2 separate regions of the Homo sapiens genome follow, and region 1 is linked to region 2. Evidence: promoter capture Hi-C in 16 types of primary human blood cells and fetal thymus (Javierre and others, 2016). All regions are on one chromosome and are shown on one strand. Each heading gives the region's core, a stretch centred on a gene start or on the middle of the fragment in contact. The rest is flanking DNA. Distances are from core to core; before and after follow the strand shown. Region 1 holds the start of LOC105373456 (a long non-coding RNA gene). Region 2 holds the start of RHOB (ras homolog family member B).

Evidence for each region. Contacts are between HindIII fragments. The CHiCAGO score rates a contact against its expected background, and 5 or more counts as called.
Region 1: a contact is called between a fragment that was not itself captured here and the fragment with the promoter of RHOB in region 2, in 1 of 17 cell types (activated CD4 T cells). The highest score is 6.9, in activated CD4 T cells.

What each region holds. Positions count from the first base shown.
Region 1 is chr2:18,557,203-18,564,036 of GRCh38, reverse strand. NT5C1B-RDH14 (NT5C1B-RDH14 readthrough) reads left to right here. Exons shown (of 11, transcript NM_001199104.2): 10 at 1-192. NT5C1B (5'-nucleotidase, cytosolic IB) reads left to right here. Exons shown (of 9, transcript NM_033253.4): 9 at 1-1,166. The coding sequence ends at 241. It overlaps LOC105373456 (a long non-coding RNA gene), which reads right to left and starts at 3,861. Exons shown (of 6, transcript XR_007086234.1): 1 at 3,346-3,861; 2 at 11-216. It overlaps RDH14 (retinol dehydrogenase 14), which reads left to right and starts at 3,384. Exons shown (of 2, transcript NM_020905.4): 1 at 3,384-3,857. The coding sequence starts at 3,465. RefSeq lists enhancers at 2,975-3,194, 3,205-3,254, 3,315-3,364, 4,175-4,224 and a silencer at 3,455-3,964. The HindIII fragment of the contact is 2,057 bases long and covers 548-2,604 here.
Region 2 is chr2:20,442,954-20,449,529 of GRCh38, reverse strand. RHOB (ras homolog family member B) reads right to left here and starts at 2,456. Exons shown (of 1, transcript NM_004040.4): 1 at 90-2,456. The coding sequence starts at 2,064. The coding sequence ends at 1,474. RefSeq lists silencers at 2,038-2,247, 2,498-2,747. The HindIII fragment of the contact is 3,675 bases long and covers 1-3,187 here.

The DNA of each region.
Region 1 (6,834 bases), core at 327-2,826, 1.9 Mb after region 2:
CAGGACCTACCTGGTTACAGCTAGGAGTGCAGCCAGTTCAGGCGCCCGTGTGCTGAAGACCCTTCGACGCTGGGGTCTAGAGATAGACGAAGCTCTTTTCCTTGCTGGAGCCCCCAAAAGTCCCATCTTGGTGAAGATCCGGCCCCACATCTTCTTTGATGACCACATGTTCCACATTGAAGGGGCACAGAGGTTAGGTTCCATCGCAGCTTATGGCTTTAATAAAAAATTCAGTAGTTAGGGGCAGGGAGGAGAAATAAAGTGGTGATAGTCTGGTGTTACAGAAGCCACTTCTTTTGGCTCTCTAGGATAATTAGATAGGTATTTCAGAAAATTGGACCTTAAAACTTTGCTTCTTTGGAAAGGTTTTCTCCTGATTTTTTGGAAAACCTTTTGAACCCTCAAGTTACCATCAAACTACTTCTCTTTGAACTACCAATACTGTTGAATGCCATTACACCTATCTCTGTGTAAGTCATAATGATGACTCTTTAGGATAAGTTTAGAACTTGAATATTTGCATGCTTAAGGCACTGTTTTAGAAGCTTACTTAGTTTTATAAACACTGCTCATTTTTGGATGTTTGTAGATAACAATGAATTGTTACCCATCAGCATTGTAGAATAGTGTCTTCAAAGGTAGAAGGAGTATGGTTAAGCACACTCTTGAAAACTGGAGCTTTGTATTCTGTGACTGCTATGGCTAGCTTTGTAACCAAAGCAAAATGAGAATTTCACTCTACCTGCATGAGTATAACAATTTTGATACTGCTCATTTAGAAATAAATCATCTGGTTGTTCCTCCAGGGTACTTTCTAAGATAAGCCTTAAACAGAAACCCCTAAGAAAGGTTCTCTGAAAATTATTTGGTGGGTTAAATGCCTCTGATCCACAGAGTTTCATATTTGAAGTCTCCGGCTTTGGGCCTGGCAGGCTGGCACATCCATATTTGTATGGAAAAAAAAAAAAAAGACCCTACGCTACCACTTCAAAAAGTGACATGAAGTGTAGTATCCTGGCCCTTCATTGTCATTCTCTCATGATTTTTGTTTTGTTTTCAACAAAAATTGGTTGGTCATTAAATATATCATATGTTAGGCACAGTGACCTGGTTATTTTCACATGTTACTTCATTTTCTTATCAAATTAAATGTTTGTGACATAGTATTATTATTACCTTCCTTTTTATCAATGAGGAGCCTAAGATTCAAAAAGATTAGACAGCTTGTTTAAGGATATGGAGCTAATAAGTGTTAAGACTAATTAGATTCAAATTCAAATCTTACTTCATAAGTTATAATGAGGTCTCTTTCCTCCCTTCCAAATAGAGTTATTAATTTCATGGCCTTTGGACCCATCTGGTACAGATTAATCATTTCATTAAGTTCCATGCATAAACTACACAGCAGTTACACTGCAGGTCTAAGGATTCCTCCCTCCTCTTTTCCTCCTACCCTCTCCTGCTCTCTCTACCTCCACCTTCATCTCTACTCCACCTGTACATATGTATTCCACCCCTGGCTCTAGATGAGAGAAGACCACAGCTGAAACACATCTTCTGATGCTCCCTAATTTTATGTAAACCAGTCCAAAATATATCAGTTGTGACATGTGACACTGAGTACCTACCATTTTGTAGGTGTCCTCCCATGCAAAGACCACAAGAGGTACGCAGACACAATCCTATCCTCTAGGAAACTTGAAACCTTAACAATCTGGTCAAGGAAGTCAAATGTGCAAACTCAAACAGCCAATACTAGAAGGCTGTTTGTCTTCAGTGCCAGTGAGGGTCACACATGACCCTGAGGGTCACACATGAAGGGAGCAGAGATCTTTATAGGCTGGAAGTGGTCAGGAAAGAAAGACTTGAGGTAGCCTGTGATTTTGATGGATGGGCAAGATGTGGATGGGTAGAAAGGACAATAAAGTGGAAACATATGCTGGGGGATCAATGAGTTTGAGTAGCAGCTTCAAATTGGGGATAGGGTGGTGTAGGACCACCTCTCATGATTCCTGTTCCTGGTGCCTTGTATAATCCCCAGTAAGAGTGCTCTTTCCCACCTCTGAGCTCCATTCTCATTACTCATAAGAAACCTCCTGGAATCCATCCCTTTTTCTTTGTATTCTGACTATTAGTTGCATGTTACATCCTTCCCAAATGTAAGGGAGTGGAAGATGGATTATCACAATTATTGGGGAGTTTGTCTCAAACGACACAAGCTGTGGTTCTTTTTCCTTGTCTGGAGAACCTGCAATGGGTGGAGGGTGGGAAGTGGGAGATCACAGTTCCAGAAAGTAAGCACCCTGAGAGCAGAAATGGTGTCCCATTTCTCTGTGGCTCTAACAGGGAACAGGCAGGGCCAGGCACATATTGGATGGAGAGGCAGACGAACGAATGAGTCTTTAAAAGTAGCTTGGTCTACAGCTATGAAGTTTGTAGCTTGAAGAAGGGTCCCTGTGACACTAACCCTGATATTAATGAGGCATTTTACAGTGAGCCAAGCACTTTGCCTTCCATCGTTGTGTGTAATAGTCCTATGGAGAGGGCAGGGAGGCATTTGTAAATGGCCTGCTCAGAAGCCTATATTTACAATAAGTCCAAGCTTTTCCCACTGTACCTCTGCCAGTGTGAAGATCATTTGAAGATGGCTTTCTTTTTTTTAATAGGGACCAATGACATAATGTCTTGTTCAGTGGTTCTCAAAGTGTGGTTCCCAGATCTGCAGCAGCAGCAGCACCTGGAAACTTGTTAAAAGTGCAAATTATCAGGCCCCATCCTGTACCTATTGAATTAGAAACTCTAATACTGGGGCCCTGGTTTTTTGTTTTCGTTTTGTTTCATTCCCCCACCCCGAACCCCCACCCCAAGTCCTCCAGGTGATTCTGATGTGCATTTAAGTTTGAGAACTACTCGACCATTCTATTTCCAACTGATTCATGTTGCTTAATTCTTTGTCTCATCTATGAAAAACAGTCCTACCTCAGACTTCAGCTTGTCAGGGCCCATTCCTCAGAAGGTGAATTGAACTGAATTTACAAGTCCCAAGAGCCCTCAAAGGAAAACACACGAAATGCCCTGAGGAGTGGCATTTGTAACAGGGCCTGTACAGAGATCTGTGATTCAAAGTACTCATCAGACATTCCCATGGGGAAGTCCGCCACTACTCTGGGATTTCAATACGTATGAACCCCAGCACCCTGAACACTGTGCTGGTTGCCCAGCCTCCATCATTAGGCTGGGAGGAGCTTCCACGGAGGGCGCAGGACCCAGGGCGCTGAACTCTCACAACCAATCAGGCGACCCCCCCAGAGGGAAACTACAAGTCCCAGCATGCCCCACGCGCACCGTCAGGGGCCGACCCGCCGCGCCCCAGCGTTCTCCGCGTACAGGTGGTCTCTTGGGTTCCGGTAAGGCGGCGGCTGCGGAACTCCCGTGGAGGGGCCGGTGGGCCCTCGGGCCTGACGATGGCAGTGGCCACTGCGGCGGCAGTACTGGCCGCTCTGGGCGGGGCGCTGTGGCTGGCGGCCCGCCGGTTCGTGGGGCCCAGGGTCCAGCGGCTGCGCAGAGGCGGGGACCCCGGCCTCATGCACGGGAAGACTGTGCTGATCACCGGGGCGAACAGCGGCCTGGGCCGCGCCACGGCCGCCGAGCTACTGCGCCTGGGAGCGCGGGTGATCATGGGCTGCCGGGACCGCGCGCGCGCCGAGGAGGCGGCGGGTCAGCTCCGCCGCGAGCTCCGCCAGGCCGCGGAGTGCGGCCCAGAGCCTGGCGTCAGCGGGGTGGGCGAGCTCATAGTCCGGGAGCTGGACCTCGCCTCGCTGCGCTCGGTGCGCGCCTTCTGCCAGGAAATGCTCCAGGTGTGGGCCTCGGGGGGCCGGGCTGGTGGGGAGGGCCTGGGCACGGTGTGGGAGGGGACTGCGGGCTGGGGCTGAGCCGCGAGGGACCGCCCTGGGGTTCAGGGTGTCACCTTGGGAACCGCTGAGGCTGAGAGGAGTCCAAAAAGCCACTTTGAGGCGGCCGGGAAGCTGCAGGGTTGAGAGGGAAAGAGAAACTAACTGGGAGGGCTGCCTTCTGTCCTCTAAGGATGTCGAAAAAGAAATGGGCCCAAGAGAAAAATAAATAAACCAGTTTCTGAACGTTTCATTTCGTTACGTGAGGACCGCCCCGAAGTAGATCCATGGCCTCTGAATTGTTTTTCCTGTGTCAGAAGTGAATTTGCACCAAGCTGTGTCTTCAGAACCCCTGAGCACTGGGGGAAGTTGCTAGCTAAGGACCTCATATCAGTCCTTTAAAAAAAGTTCTCCTTCCCCCGGCCTCTGCCCCTTTTCTGCTGGGGTAAGGAGCTCGCTGCCACCAGTAAACTCAGCACCATCCTTAACGGGACTGTGGCCTGATTTCCAAGTAGAATACATTTTGGAACCCAGTGGTCATGCTCCATACAGAGACAGGAATAAAAATAACACCCAGCATTATTGAAGATCTGTATGCCAGGAGCTGTGCCAAGCATTTCAGATTTTCCTTTTTGTCTTAAATGAAAATGAAGTGTCCTTGCCTATAACTGTCATTGAAGCTACACAGTAACCCTGTGGAGTAGGCATTATTATCATCCCTGTTTTACAACGCGAGGAAACTGAGGCATAGGAAGGCTAAGAAACTTGCTTGTGGTCTGTCTCCAGAACACTTGCTTTTAACCCTTGTTCTTTCCTCCTGCTGCCTGGCAGTGAGGTGTGAGGATTTCTTTGTGCAAATGGTAAGTAATTCCACATAAGTGGATGTTCTCCGTTGAGATTGAGGTAGAAGAGTTTCTTGCAGGGATAACTGGCATTCAGAGGGCATTTGTTCAGAAGAGTGAAATTTAAAATTAGCTGGGACAAGAAAGGTGCCTATATGACGTAGAGTCTCTTGAGTCTAGAGAAGAGGTTCCCAAATTTTCTCAGTAATTTTTTCATGATGCCCTTAGGCCAGAAATATTTCCCAGTTCATTTATTTAGAAAGTTTATTTTGCCAAGGTTAAGGATGCACCCGTGGCAGAACCTCAGGCGGTCCTGAGGACATGTGCCCAAGGTGGTCGGGGCACAGCTTGGTTTTATACATTTTAGGGAGACATGAGACATCAATCACATATGTAAGGTATACATTGGTTCTCCTGGAAAAGTGGGACAACTCGAAGTGGGGGCTTCCAGGTCATAGGTAGATGGGAGACAAAAGGTTGCATTCTTTTGGGTCTTTGATTAGCCTTTTACTGAATACAATTTACATGTGCAGGAGGGATAGAGGAATAATCACTTATGTCTTAGACTGGCTCAGTGAGTCTGCATTTTCACATAAACAATACGGCAGAGTCAGCAATCAGATAAGCATTTATCTCAGGTGAGCAGAAGGATGACTTTAGAGTTCTGTCTTTTGTTTGGCACTTGTGAAGATGAGCTATCAATTTATGAATACATTGCCAGGGTGAAATTCAACAGAAGTGTTTTAGGGTAAAGATCTTGAGGCCCATGTGGGCAAATTATGAGGGTGATATGTAGCTTCTTTTTCTTTGTAGCTATCTTATTTAGGAATAAAATGGGAGGCAGGTTTGTCTGAGGCAGTTCCCAGCTTGACTTTAACCTTTGACTTAGTGATTTTGGGTTCTGAGATTTATTTTCCTTTGACACAACCTAATAAGTAGTTATGTCCTAACAACTTAGTAGCTATTTGAGAAGATAACATAATTGAAAGAAAAAAATAATATGTTTATTTTGTTCTTAAACAGCCATAACTACTAATGGGAAATGTATCTCTGTTGGTCATTACACCAGTGTCTGAAACCTTGGAATCAGATTGGACACTTCCACCCTCATTTCCTGTTCTAGGTAGATTTTTAGCATTGTTCTTGTTTTTTATTACAGCAACTGCTAACAGCTGCTTAAAAGTCAGCTCCACAAAGAAATAATGTCATTGAAAGGAATATAGCACAATGTAATGTTCAAGCTGTGAACCACCTGGAGCTAGTAGTTTTGAGGTATTGAGCAAATATCACTGTGTTTCCCTCGAAAATTTAAAATATTCCACAACACCCTGAGAGTTTGCTGCAATGCTGTAGGCCACAGTTCGGGAGCTGTTGCAGAACTAGAGAGTTGGTTTTTTGTTTATTGCTAGTATTTAATTATGTGTAACACAGGTTAAGAAATAATACTCATCAGTGAGATTTTGGAAGCATTAAAGATGGATCTTTCTGTTCCTCTTTAAAATATAGATGGGGCTGGGTTTGCTTCTTTGGCACTTGAGGCAGAACTAATTAAAAAGTGAGGACACAAAGAGATAATTAAGTTGTCCTTGCTTCTAAGTAAGTATTTCTGTTCCTGCCTGGCTCTGAAGTTAAGTGACTATAATTAGAAGGAAAAAAAAATGGAAATGTAGATTTCCCACAGGTTGGTATTCTTGGTATTTATTTCATTTATCTCGTAGAATTTAAAAAAATAGTAAATGACAAAATTTTAAAATAACACAAGCCCAGCAAAGAATGCTGGATAACAAATGATTAATTCAGGAAAATCTTCCAAAGGATTTGTGAAAAAGAATACTCCTTTCTTTCCCCCATGAGTGAACTCTTGCCTTCTTTTTGAAGTTGACTATTGGAAAACCCAAAGATGCTTAGACAGGGCAGAATGAGAAATAGTTAATCCTCTGACAGGTGGGCTTCGATAACAGTTGTGAAATGTAACACATTTTTCTTTTCACTTATAGTTGGCAGAAGGGCCAGTGAAATTTGAAAGTTGACCTCATATTAATCATGGGTCATCACAGTGTCTTTACACTTGGAACATGTGCATTTCTTTGTCCATCAAAAGA
Region 2 (6,576 bases), core at 1,207-3,706:
AAGAAAGGATCTCGCCTAGGAGAATATCTCCCTTGTTCCAAATTCACAAGGGTATTTTTACACACTATTAAACCACAAGAGCCATTTTATAAATGTCATCATCATAGTCTTTTAATATTTTACATAAAAAACTGTATACACAGCTTATAGAACTTTTATGTAAACATCATAAGCTCACCATTTTGTCATTTGTCAGTTTATTTAAAAAATAAAAAACAAGACAACAATTTAGTAGAAGTACCACTGGGAGGGAGGGGAGGGGAAAAAAGGATATACAGGGGCAGGTGTATTCTCTGTACAGAGGTGCAGAGAAAATTTCACATAGCTTTAGAGAATGCCTTGTGGAAAAAAAAAAAATAGGCCCCAATACTTGTTACTGCCCTTTATCAAAACTGTGTGCATGACCTGCACAAATAAAATCACAAAACAGTGTTGCCACATTCTTCAAGGAAACAAAGCAAAATTTAGTGGGTTTCTTTTCCCTCTCCTTGTTAAAAGTCATTTTTTAAAAACATCAGAAGTAGATGAGGTTACAGCGTACAAGTGTGGTCAGAATGCTACTGTCGTATGCAAATGACGAGTGCATTAAGTGTCAAACAATGAAACAATTGTGCAAAGAATAAAAAAACAAATTTTAGCCTTTAAATAAATCAAATAACATCAGTTTCTTGGACTGAACAATTTTCACTTCTAGGACAGGCACAAAGTTCGCTTATGGCAAAAACAACCCCACAGCGCATCCTCCCTCCTCCCTCCGGTAGCTGGTGGAGGGTTCGCAGCGGGCTGGCCCGCAGGAGAGGCTGTGCTGAAGCTGTGTCCTCCCCAAGTCAGTTGCAAATGTCTTCCCCAGGGGTTGGAAAGATGGTCAAGTCCTGTTCATGCTTGGGCGGGAGTCTGGCCCAGCCTGGGCCAGAGCGCTCACCCATCACCACCCTTAAATAACACCATCTTAGCTCCGAAAATAAAATTATATCTATATTTATATAACATCCCCCCATCCTCCCCAGCAGCCCTCCCCTCCCGCAGTACCCGGGGTCTATGTTACAGACAAGGGATATCAAGCTCCCGCTGGTGAAGGGCGAACATCTGATGGGGCGCGGCCACACTCCCGCGCCAATCTCGCCCCCGGGGATCAGAGGCGGGGGTGGGGTGAAAATGGGGCGAGGGGAGTCGAACAGACACACAGCCACACACTCTGAGGCCCGGCTCTTCAGAAAAGCATGCTCAGGGGACCCTTGGCACTCAGTGGGGAGCCCAGGCCTGTGCAACACAGCTGGACGCACACAGACACTGGGATGGGGGCGCCCGGTGCCCACGCCAAGTCCTGGCGCAAGCCAGAGGCGTCAGCAGACAGATGCCAGGCAGGCCGGTGGGGTCCTTGTGGGACACGGGTCTCCCCTTCTCCGGGCTCGCGGGGGACTGGTCCAGGAGGGGGAGCCGTGCCGGCAGGGGCAGGCGCGACGGGCGCGGCCCTCATAGCACCTTGCAGCAGTTGATGCAGCCGTTCTGGGAGCCGTAGCGCTTCTGCAGCGCGGCGCGCGTGGCCGTCTCGAAGACCTCGCGCACGCCTTCCTTGGTCTTGGCAGAGCACTCGAGGTAGTCGTAGGCTTGGATGCGCACGGCCATGGCGCGGCCGTCATCCGTGCGCACGGGTTCCTGCTTCATGCGGGCCAGCTCTGTGCGGACATGCTCGTCGCTGCGCAGGTCTTTTTTGTTGGCCACCAGGATGATGGGCACATTGGGACAGAAGTGCTTCACCTCGGGGACCCACTTCTCGGGGATGTTCTCCAGCGAGTCCGGGCTGTCCACCGAGAAGCACATGAGAATGACGTCGGTGTCCGGGTAGGAGAGCGGCCGCAGGCGGTCGTAGTCCTCCTGGCCCGCCGTGTCCCACAGCGCCAGCTCCACCTGCTTGCCGTCCACCTCAATGTCGGCCACATAGTTCTCGAAGACGGTGGGCACGTACACCTCGGGGAACTCGTCCTTACTGAACACGATCAGCAGGCACGTCTTGCCACACGCGCCGTCGCCCACCACCACCAGCTTCTTGCGGATGGCCGCCATGAGCGGGCCGGGCCCGGGCAGCAGGAGGGGGCCCGCGAACGCCTCGCTGCCCTCCCGCTCGCCGCTCACTGCTCACCTCGGGCTGCGCGCAGGTGGCGAGAGGGTCGCTAGCTGCACCCGGGCCCCGCGGTGGCGCGTTCTCTCGCTGCGCTTCGGCTGCCGCGGCGGGGGCGGTGGGGGCGCGGGGGCATAGGGCGCACCGTGCGTCTCGCCGCGCTGCTCCCGGGCGGTGGTCGCTCTGCTCACCCCAGGCCGGGGATCGGCGGCTTTGTGCGTAACGCGGGCTCGGGCAGCAGACTCGGGCGGTGGACTCGGCCTAGCTCTCTCCCGGGTCTCTCCGGGCCTCGCTGAGCATACAAGACAACAGCTCCAACCAGACTGCGGTGGCAGATGAGGGCTGCGGCCCTAGCGCCCGCTATTTAAAGAGTCCGGCCACTTTCTTAATATAGCCGTCCAATGGGAAACCAGCCGGCTGAGCTCATCGCTGCGGAGCTTAGCTCTGATTGGCCGCCCCCTGCAGCCCGAGGGCGGGGCAGGGCCAGCTTGATTGACGGCCCAGGCCGCCGGGCTGGGAGAGGCAGCGACCGGGGAGTCCGCGCTGCTGCTGCCGCTGCGGGGCTCTGGCGGTACCCGGGTCCCCTCCTTCGCCGCAGCGTTTGCGCGCGGGGTCCGGGAGCTGGCTGTCTGGAGCCTCCAGGGTCTGGGCGAGCGGTTCCGAGACAGGCTTCACTCAGTGGGGCGTTGGCGACTCCCATTCAGAATTGCCCCTCTTCCTGGCAAACTCCCGGCGGGTGGTCGGGCCTGTGGGGGAGGGGCAGCTCTTTTAACGTGGTTTTGTTTTTAAATAAACAGACACACACACACACACACACACACACACACCCCACACACACACTTTTGTTCCCAAACAAGAGTGTTTTCTCTTTTCTTTTGGAGGTGGCCCCTCCTGTGGTTTAGGGCCCCACCCGGGTACTCGCCGTGGGCCAGCCTCGGGTTTGGACCCGAGAGGCGACCGGCTGGCTGCAAACTGGCTCTTCCAAGTCCCGCCGCCCCTACCCTTCCCAACCCCCAGCTTAGGTCTCTAGGTGAAGATTAAGGGAAGAGGTGCGGAGTGGCCCAAGCTTGACAACGGAAAGGGAAGGTCGAGGCTCGAACACTTGGAGGAAGTTACCGGACAGGAAGAAGCCCCTTCGGCCCCTCTTTTCACTATGAACTCTGATCCCGGTTCTTAAAACAGAGAACTGTCTGAGATAAATTGTACAATAGAATATACACTATTGTACAATAGAATGTACAATAGAATATACACTATTGTACAATAGAATGTACAATAGAATATACACTATTGTACAATAGAATGTACAATAGAATATACACTTGTACAATAGAATGTACAATAGAATATACACTATTGTACAATAGAATGTACAATAGAATATACACTATTGTACAATAGAATGTACAATAGAATATACACTATTGTACAATAGAATGTACAATAGAATATACACTATTGTACAATAGAATGTACAATAGAATATACACTATTGTACAATAGAACGTACAATATTCCGGGTTCAATAGAATCCAACCACCCCAAGACCCCTGAGCAGACGAAAAGGCTTGAGGCTGGAGAAGAGGGGAGGAGTAAGGGGCTAGCAAATGGGGCACAGCGGGTTAGGGGGTGTCCCCTCTATTGGGGCGTAGCCTCCTGATGCACGCCAGGACTGAACTCATTTATCCTGTAGATCCTGCATGAAATGACAGTACCGGTGATCCGGAAAGACCCAAGTCAACCGATTTCTACGGATAAAAGAGGAAGAAGGGGATAGGGGGAAAGGGGAGTCGGGGAGGGCTCCCGGGCAGGAGAAACAGCCTGAACACAAGCAGGAAGGTGGGAAGGAGCGGGGCAAACTCTAGGAGCTGCATATGCTGGGGCTCATGAGTGCTAAAGTATTAACAGCATGGGCTGGGCTCTGTCTATCCATTGCATGGGAAATGTCTGCAAACTGTTTTTTCAGCAAAGGAGGGACCCACCACATGACCGGGAGGTGGTTGCCTCCTGTCTCCGTCTCTGTCTCGGTCTCTGTCAGTTGTTGGAGGGCCAGGATTCTGTCTTATCTCCGCATCTTGAAGACCCAGCACAATGCCTGGCATTTACAAGGATCAGTAAATGACTGTGGGGAATTAACCCGAATGCTCAGAAACGCAGGTGGAATTTTCTGGGGGTTTCTTACCTCAGTTCCACACTTCGCTTTAACAATTATCTAACCAGGCCGGGCACAGTACCTCATGCCTGTGATCCCTGGGCGTGGGAGGCCCAGGCTGGAGAATTGTTTGAGCTCAGGAGTTCAAGACCAGCCTGGGTAACATGACAAAACCCCGTCCCTGTCCCTGAGAAAAATAAAATGGGATGGCGTGGGGAGGAGAGTGGCCTGCACCTATAATCTCAACTACTCAGGAGGCTGAGGTGGGAGGATTGCTTGAGCCCAGGAGGGCAAGGCTGCAGTGAGCTATGATCACAACACCCCACTCCAGCCTGGGTGACAGAATGAGACCCTGGCTCAAAAGAAAAAAAAAAAGTAAACATTAAAAAGAAAATCATTAAGCAAACCCATGCAGCCAACTGTGACTGAACCCCGGTGTTTTCACATGTAATTCATATGTTAAGAGCTAGGTCCCCATATGGCTCCACAGATGAAATCAGATCAAATAAGGCAGTAGTGCTGCTAAGCCTAGAGCCCTTCCTAGAGGGAACGTCTTATTTAGACGACTGGAAGTGCTGTGCTTCCCTCAGACTGGATTCACATCACTACAACAACCGGCCAACCAGCTTTTTTTTGTTGTTGTTGGCCGGGGCGGTGGGGGGCGGGGGTTTGTTTTTCAGATCTAAGGAACTGATCTGTCAGCAAGTAAATAGTTTTTCTGTTCATTGATTTAAGGATGCAATCTGGAAGCTTTTTTTTTTTCCTATTAGAAAAGTCTTATTTACACAAATTTTTCTTCTTTTAGTCAAAACCTTTTATAGCTGTATTGTTAACGCCGCTTTCCTTGGTCTTAATATAGCTTGGGAAACTTGGCTATGTCCTTAAACTTCAAATACCAAGAAATATGAAACAAAGCTTTGTACCATGTGTTTTTTTCTTTAAAAAACAAAGAATCCGGAAAACGGATTGAACTCCTTCGTGTTCTGATTTCCAGGAATATTATATGAGGTGTTCCAAGCTCAAATCTCAATATTGCAATAATTTCTAAAACTATGCAGTTGGTAAAAATGCCAAAGTAAACAAATAGATCTGTGTTCTGCAGTAACTTCTTTAGTAACTTCTTTTCATGGTATTTTTTTTTTTTTAGTCCAGGATACTTTGACAAGCTCTGCAGAGACTGGCTGCTTCCAAGACTGCCCCACACACAGGATAAACTTTTCCCAACTAGGTGATATGCCGGACAAGCCCCTCCCTGTCCCTTGCCCTTCATAATACACTTCCTCAGACAGGGATAAAATTTGATTCTTCTATGAGAACAAGTCATTTTATTTTATTTTATTTTTTGAGACAGAGTCCTACTCTGTCACCCAGGCTGGAGTGCAGTGGTATGATCTTGGCTCACTGTAACCTCGGCCTCCTGGGTTCAAGCAGTTCTCCTGCCTCAGACCCCCGAGTAGCTGGGATTACAGGCGTGTGACACCATGCCTGGCTAATTTTTGTATTTTCAGTACACAGGGTTTTCCCTTGTTGGCCAGGCTGGTCTCAAATTCCTGACTTCAAGTGATCCACCCACTTAGACCTCCCCAAGTGCTGGGATTACAGGCGTGAGCCACCGCCACCAGCCAAGAACAAGTCATGTTAACAATTAACTTTATTAACATATTCATCTTATGACATAATATATCCACACCTGTGAGACAGGGAAGTTGTATTTCAGACAAAAGGAGGATATTAATCTATCTCTAATCTTTAACCTAATTTATTTGGTTTTGTTTGTTTGCCAGGTGTCTCCTGTAAATCATTCTACACTCCTCAAAGACCAGAGCAGAGTTGGAATTTTCATTAGATTTTAGTGCCACCTTGCGGCAATCTTTATGGGGTCTTTTTCTTAAAAAAAAAAAAAGAAAGAAAAGAAAAGAAAACCTTTGGTCAAAAAGTATGCATTTTATGGATATTTTTATTTTAAAATATTTCAGAGCATATAAAACTCTGAATAATGTTTTACAAGTAGATTCTTAGAAATTCTTCATATGTATTTATACACACATAACTTTTTCATATACACTTTACAAAAATATTAACGAAAATGCCATTCAGTGGAAAAAAAAATTCCTTCCTAAATAGTAACTTCTAAAAGAAATTAGAAGAGAAAGATAAAGTCTATGGATCTTCACTAACTTACAGACTAATGGACTTCACTTTTCGTTTATTATAATGTACAGAAATTTAAAACAACTTTAGCCACAAAAATCATTCCGTTTTTGCCCCAGTTAAGAAAGCCATTGCTGGATACTCTGGTATAGTT